Linked DNA regions of Homo sapiens: region 1 is linked to region 2. Evidence: promoter capture Hi-C in 16 types of primary human blood cells and fetal thymus (Javierre and others, 2016). All regions are on one chromosome and are shown on one strand. Each heading gives the region's core, a stretch centred on a gene start or on the middle of the fragment in contact. The rest is flanking DNA. Distances are from core to core; before and after follow the strand shown. Region 1 overlaps TTC21B (tetratricopeptide repeat domain 21B). Region 2 holds the start of SCN3A (sodium voltage-gated channel alpha subunit 3).

What was found. Contacts are between HindIII fragments. The CHiCAGO score rates a contact against its expected background, and 5 or more counts as called.
Region 1: a contact is called between a fragment that was not itself captured here and the fragment with the promoter of SCN3A in region 2, in 1 of 17 cell types (total B cells). The highest score is 6.5, in total B cells.

What each region holds. Positions count from the first base shown.
Region 1 is chr2:165,940,894-165,944,066 of GRCh38, reverse strand. TTC21B (tetratricopeptide repeat domain 21B) reads left to right here. Exons shown (of 29, transcript NM_024753.5): 5 at 726-848; 6 at 2,883-3,040. The region is part of intron 1 of TTC21B-AS1 (TTC21B antisense RNA 1); the gene reads right to left. Among named protein-coding and RNA genes, the nearest start is that of TTC21B-AS1, 8.6 kb to the right of the region's middle. The HindIII fragment of the contact is 2,806 bases long and covers 486-3,173 here.
Region 2 is chr2:165,202,644-165,205,378 of GRCh38, reverse strand. SCN3A (sodium voltage-gated channel alpha subunit 3) reads left to right here and starts at 1,329. Exons shown (of 28, transcript NM_006922.4): 1 at 1,329-1,556. The HindIII fragment of the contact is 4,908 bases long and covers 1-2,261 here.

The DNA of each region.
Region 1 (3,173 bases), core at 639-3,138, 740 kb before region 2:
TACAGGGAGGTAAATATAGTCTTAGTTAAAGGTTTATAAATTTGTCAGTTAACCTAGATTTTTTTAATAGAAAAAGCACATTTCACAGTTTTTTATTTGACCTTAAAGAGAAAAATAACCAGTTTTTATCTTGTTTTCAATCCCATATGTCTTACAACCCATCGGCCCACTAACATGTGTAAAGATAAATATCCATGAGTTCTTCAGTTTATAATTTCTCAGGCTATCCACCTGTCATTTGAAATTCAATGGACTAATCAAAGAGGTTAAGAAGATTGTTGCCAGATTATCTGAATCTTTAAGATATGTGAAGCAAGGCTTCTTCTGTTATTTCATCTTAGTTCATTTAGACGGTTTGTCCAAAAAGAAACAACAAATTCTCATCTATATATTGAATTTCATGTTTAAGTGTTATTAATTGTCAATTACTAGCAAAGTCTCAGAGAAAATAATGGTTTTAACACTAATGGAATATTTGATAAGCTTCTTAATTTTAATATTGAGCTTAATAGTAATGTTAAAGGCTGAAATTTGTAGTATAGTTCCCAAGACACTAGGCTGGCAAGGGTTCAAAAGTGATTTCACTAACAGAATTTTATTGTTCATAACATATTTGATAGAGTCCTTTTTGTTATTAATTGCCAGAAAAATGACATTAGGCTCTTTCATTAACATTTATTTCTCTCATTTCTAAAAAAGTAAAAATAGAATTATTCATTTTACAGGGACACGTTTTGAAAGCATGGCTTGATATTACAAGAGGAAAAGAGCCTTACACTAAAAAAGCACTGAAGTATTTTGAAGAGGGACTCCAAGATGGGAATGATACTTTTGCTCTGCTGGGTAAGGTGAGTTGGAGTTAGGGTAAATAAATCATGTTTCAAAATATATTCATAATATATTTGAAACCTGACAAAACCAAGTAGCTCAAAAAAGTTGATAATTTTCATGATACTGTTGTCAGCTCACAGCTGTAAGGTAGACTGGCATTTGTGTAGGACAATGAGCAATACACTAGAGAAATGTATTCCCTGCCAGAGTTCCTGAATCCTGGATCAGCTGTAACTGTTAATTGTTGTTGTTGTTTTGGTTCACACATTCTTTCCTCAGCATTTATTATGTGTCTTATGTATGTGAGGCATCCCTCTAGATATTAGAAACCCTGAGCAAGAGAAAACCTCTTGTTTTTATGGAGCTTATATCCTACTGATGGAGGCAGACAATAAACAAAATAAGTAAGTTATATGGTATATTAGAAGGTGATAAGTATAATGGAAAATACAGCTGGAAAAGCTAGGGCATGAACTTCCAGTTTTACATGAAGTGGTCGGAGAAAGTGACATTTGAGCAAACACATTTATGGAGGTGAGGGTTAAAGCCCTGCAGGCATCTGGGGAAAGTATTTCAAATAGAGGAGATGATGAGTTCAGGTACCCTAAGGTGTATTCAGGGCTAGCAAGGAGGCCAAAGTGGGTTGAGTAAAGAGAACAGAAGTGAAGGCCTGAGGAAGAAAGGTGGGATGGGGGTGAGGAGGAGTGGTGGGCCTGGCCTGTTCTGTAAGGCCTTTGGCTTCTACCTTCTATTAGAGAGACAGGCAGCCAATACAAAGTTTTGAACAGAGAAATAACATGATCGGACATACATTTTGAGGGATGAGCAATTGAAGGAGTCATTAGAACTTACTGATGGATGGAAATATTTAAGTAGGACCCTTTCTTCAATCCCCATTGATGCTATCTAAATGCCTTAATTTTTTTTTGACTCAGCAAAAAGAAATTATATGTTGGGAACAAGTCTGCTAGATAAGCAGTAATTTGGAGGGATAAAAAAGAAGGGGAGAGGATTCATGTCTTGACTTTTGTTAATGTCTCCACATCACTTTTCCTGTCACTTTGTGTGGACAGTAAGCCTGTTGAACATCTTGTGTTCAGGCCCACTACCCTCAAGTTTTACCTAATAGCACTGCTGAAGAAATTGGCCATATACTTTTCTTGATCATTTTCCTTCTCTTAAAGAAAAGCTAGTTGATAAAAATTTGCCTCATCATCTCTTTTTAATGTACTAACTATATTTATAGCTTTATTTTTTCTGACTATGAGATACATGAACATAGTAAAACTTTTTTTCAGAAAATACAATAACATCTGAATGAGAAAATGAGCATCACCATTGGAAATAACCAGTTAAACTATTATATATAATATCTCTTCATGTCAGTAAATCTACGTCTACAAATTTATATCATCATTTTTAATGATTACTTAACATTTTATTAAATTAGATATACTATAATTTTCTCCTCTAGGTACATTTGGGATTATTTTATACATAAACAATTCTGCCATAAATATCATCTATATACTTCCTTGTGGTCTTGTCCAATTATTTCCTTCAGATAATTCATAGAAGTGAAAAATGTTGAAGTAGAGGGATTTGTTTGAACTGTATTTTGCTTGTTCTTTAAAATCATATATTCTTTAACCTGAAAATAATTTCTTAAAAAAGATGCAAAATTTCTAAAATTTCTTAAAATTTTAGATGCTACTTGAAAATTTCCTGGAAACATTTTAATCTAAAAAGATAATTTTGTTTTAAATGGAAACATTATTTTATGGTATTTCCGAGAACATTTTAAAAAATTTTATCCTTTAATCATGTTTTTCAGCCATTTAAAAGTAAATTTTAAAACACAATAGCTTATATAATGTATTTGTATTATTCTGTGATGTTTTAAAATTTTGTTTTGACAAAAACTTAAAAAGTGATAACTGCTCCTCACAGAAAAGTAAGTATTAAACGCTCATACTCTGCCTGCTCTGCGTTATGAGAACTTTGATATGAAAGATCACAGTTTGGATATCACTTTTTTTCCCTTCCATTAGGCACAATGCCTTGAGATGCGCCAGAATTATTCAGGTGCCCTGGAGACTGTGAACCAGATAATCGTGAATTTTCCGAGCTTCCTTCCTGCTTTTGTTAAGAAAATGAAATTACAACTAGCCTTGCAGGATTGGGACCAGACAGTTGAGACAGCACAAAGGTTAAGTAATAAAAGATGACACAAGTCTCTTTGGATTTGGTTATAATTTTGAGAAAAAGCGACATCTGTGAATTTTTTTCATAAGGGTTTTTAAATTTGATTTTTTTCAAACAGTGTGGAACCGAGGAAATAC
Region 2 (2,735 bases), core at 80-2,579:
AGTAGATATGAGGGATAATGATGGTCATGGATCATGCAGGACTCCTGGCCTCAGTGGATGCCCATGTGGAGAAAGGGGGAACGGGATCATACTCTGCTTTCTCTATATATGTACACAATCCTGAACTTAGATCAGTCTCCATGAGAAGGAGAGATAGAAGAGGAAAATCATGTATTGGTTGAATGCAAACCCAAAATCATTGGGAAAAGCCTCAAGTAATTTAGTTTACCTGGAACTGACTAGATTTATTTTTCTGCCATTAGACAAAATGGGGGCCACAATTGAAAACGAAGTATGTAATTAACAGTTCTTGAACACATGGCTGGGAAATATGGTATCAGCTATATTTGTTTTTCTTCTTTGTATGAGCTCCTTTATGGCAGGCACTGTGTGTTTCTCTCTGTGTCTTTTCAAGTCTAATATAATACTTGACATCATTTTTGTCCATCCATACAGTTGGTTTGTCAATATGAATGTATTTATTTAATTGATGATAAACTGTAATAAAATCATAGTTGTTTGCTCTAAAGTAGATATGAAAGGTCAGATGAAACAATAACATACATCTGGATTGAGAAATATCTTAATAACTGATGGATTATTTTTATTTTCTTTATGTATTGTGTGCTTCAATATCCTAATAAATAATATTAGCTAGGTTCACTGATGTATAGAATCTTTTTCTACATTTAGATATTTCTTGCAAATGTTTTACCAGAAAGCAACACAAAAATACTATCAGTGAGTATGTGTTTACACTGTTCTCTAAGGAGTCAAATTCCTCACCTTGAAAATAATTCATCCCAGGAAGAGAAAAGGTTTTCAAAAGACTAGAGCAGGCCACAAGGGAGCTTTCGCAAAACTCTACACGTAAAGGGTAATGTAAACTTAAAACCTATTTTTCAAACAGTAATTTATATATCTTTTAATTTTAGTAGTTTATGTGTGAAACAATCATGCAAAACAACAAAGTGATAAAATTTTTTAAAAAAATTAGTGAGATGCAAATAACTGAATATGTAAAAGGTCTCATACATATTTATATGTAGTAGATAAGTTACATTTTTTTAGTGTGTTGGGAAATTTTAGCTCACATCACCTCTCTACTGTCATCTTGGGGCACTTTCATGACTACCCATGCTTCATGCAGGTTTACTTTCCTCCCTGTGACAGAGGATAATGGGAATGTTTTTTCTTTGGCTCAATTTTGTGTGTGTCCGCCAGTAGATGGCGGTACCACTTTGAGTGCGATCGGCCTTTTTTTCTTTCTTTTTTTTTTTCCTCAAAGCTGTTTTCTGATATATGTTGGGTACCATAGAGTGAATCTCAGAACAGGAAGCGGAGGCATAAGCAGAGAGGATTCTGGAAAGGTCTCTTTGTTTTCTTATCCACAGAGAAAGAAAGAAAAAAAATTGTAACTAATTTGTAAACCTCTGTGGTCAAAAAAAAAAAAAAAAAAAAAAGCTGAACAGCTGCAGAGGAAGACACGTTATACCCTAACCATCTTGGATGCTGGGCTTTGTTATGCTGTAATTCATAAGGCTCTGTTTTATCAGGTAAGCTGACAAAACATTTCATTATCTGCACCATAGAACCTAGCTACCAGGTCATTTTCCTTACTTTAAAATCATCTTCATGCTGCTATTTTTAACCCAGTGTTGTTTAAATGTAAATTACAGGAACCAAAGGCATCGTTTGATGTGTAAACTGCTTACTATTTCTTTATCTTTCAAAGAAAATAGAGCCTGTCTGGAAATGGTGATTTATGGTACATACTAGGCATCAATGGTCTTGTGTTTTTGTAGATGCTTATGATTAATTGTATTCAGAAAAAATATTTTTTATTATACTTAAAGCTAGTCTAATGAGTTTCCTGGCTGTATGTCATCTATTTAAATGCCCAGTGTGTCCAGTATTTTTTAAACATAAATGTATAGTGAAATTGGAACTATCATTCTTGTGCTTTAGTTTTTTATTTAACAGCTTTAGAGAGGCCATGCATATAGGGAGTGATAACAATATAGAGGTGTTTGGCTTTGTGAAATACACTATCATTTTTCTCTAAAATCTGTTTTCATAGAGAAAAGAACACCAATACTAACCATTTAAAAGAGGTTGAACCTTCAAAAAATAAAATAATCTCTATATGTTCCATAATATGCTACTTCTTTATCCTTTAATATATTCATTTTATATTAAATGTTTACCTTTTAATTTATTGATTTAAAGATTATTATATATTCTTAATTGTTCTATAAGCTTGATAGATTGCTGTTTTTCTGTATATATTTAATAACTGTTTATTTTTATTAATTACCAGGAAGAACCACTGGAGCCATAAAACAATAATTTACTTTATCTATGATCCATATTGTCTGTAGTTGTATTTAGAATATTCTATATCATAACCATAAATGTTTCATTCAGTTAGCCACCACATAATTAGAATAAGAAATTATTGACAGAAAATCTATACATATTAATTGAAAGATAAGTTTTAAAAATCATACAGGGTTTTAAAATACACAACAGGTAGTATAATGTGGCTTATGAGGACAAAGATAAAGGCATAAGTGCTTGTAGGAATTTGCATGGAAACATTTCATCACATTCACTCCAAATAGAGTGTGCCCTATATGAAATGAAGACTTCTGATTTCAACAGGGCTTCCAGTCAGTACTGGCTAAAAGGGCTTCAAAAATAGAACTTAAGGCCTCCAAACTGTAATTCCTAAT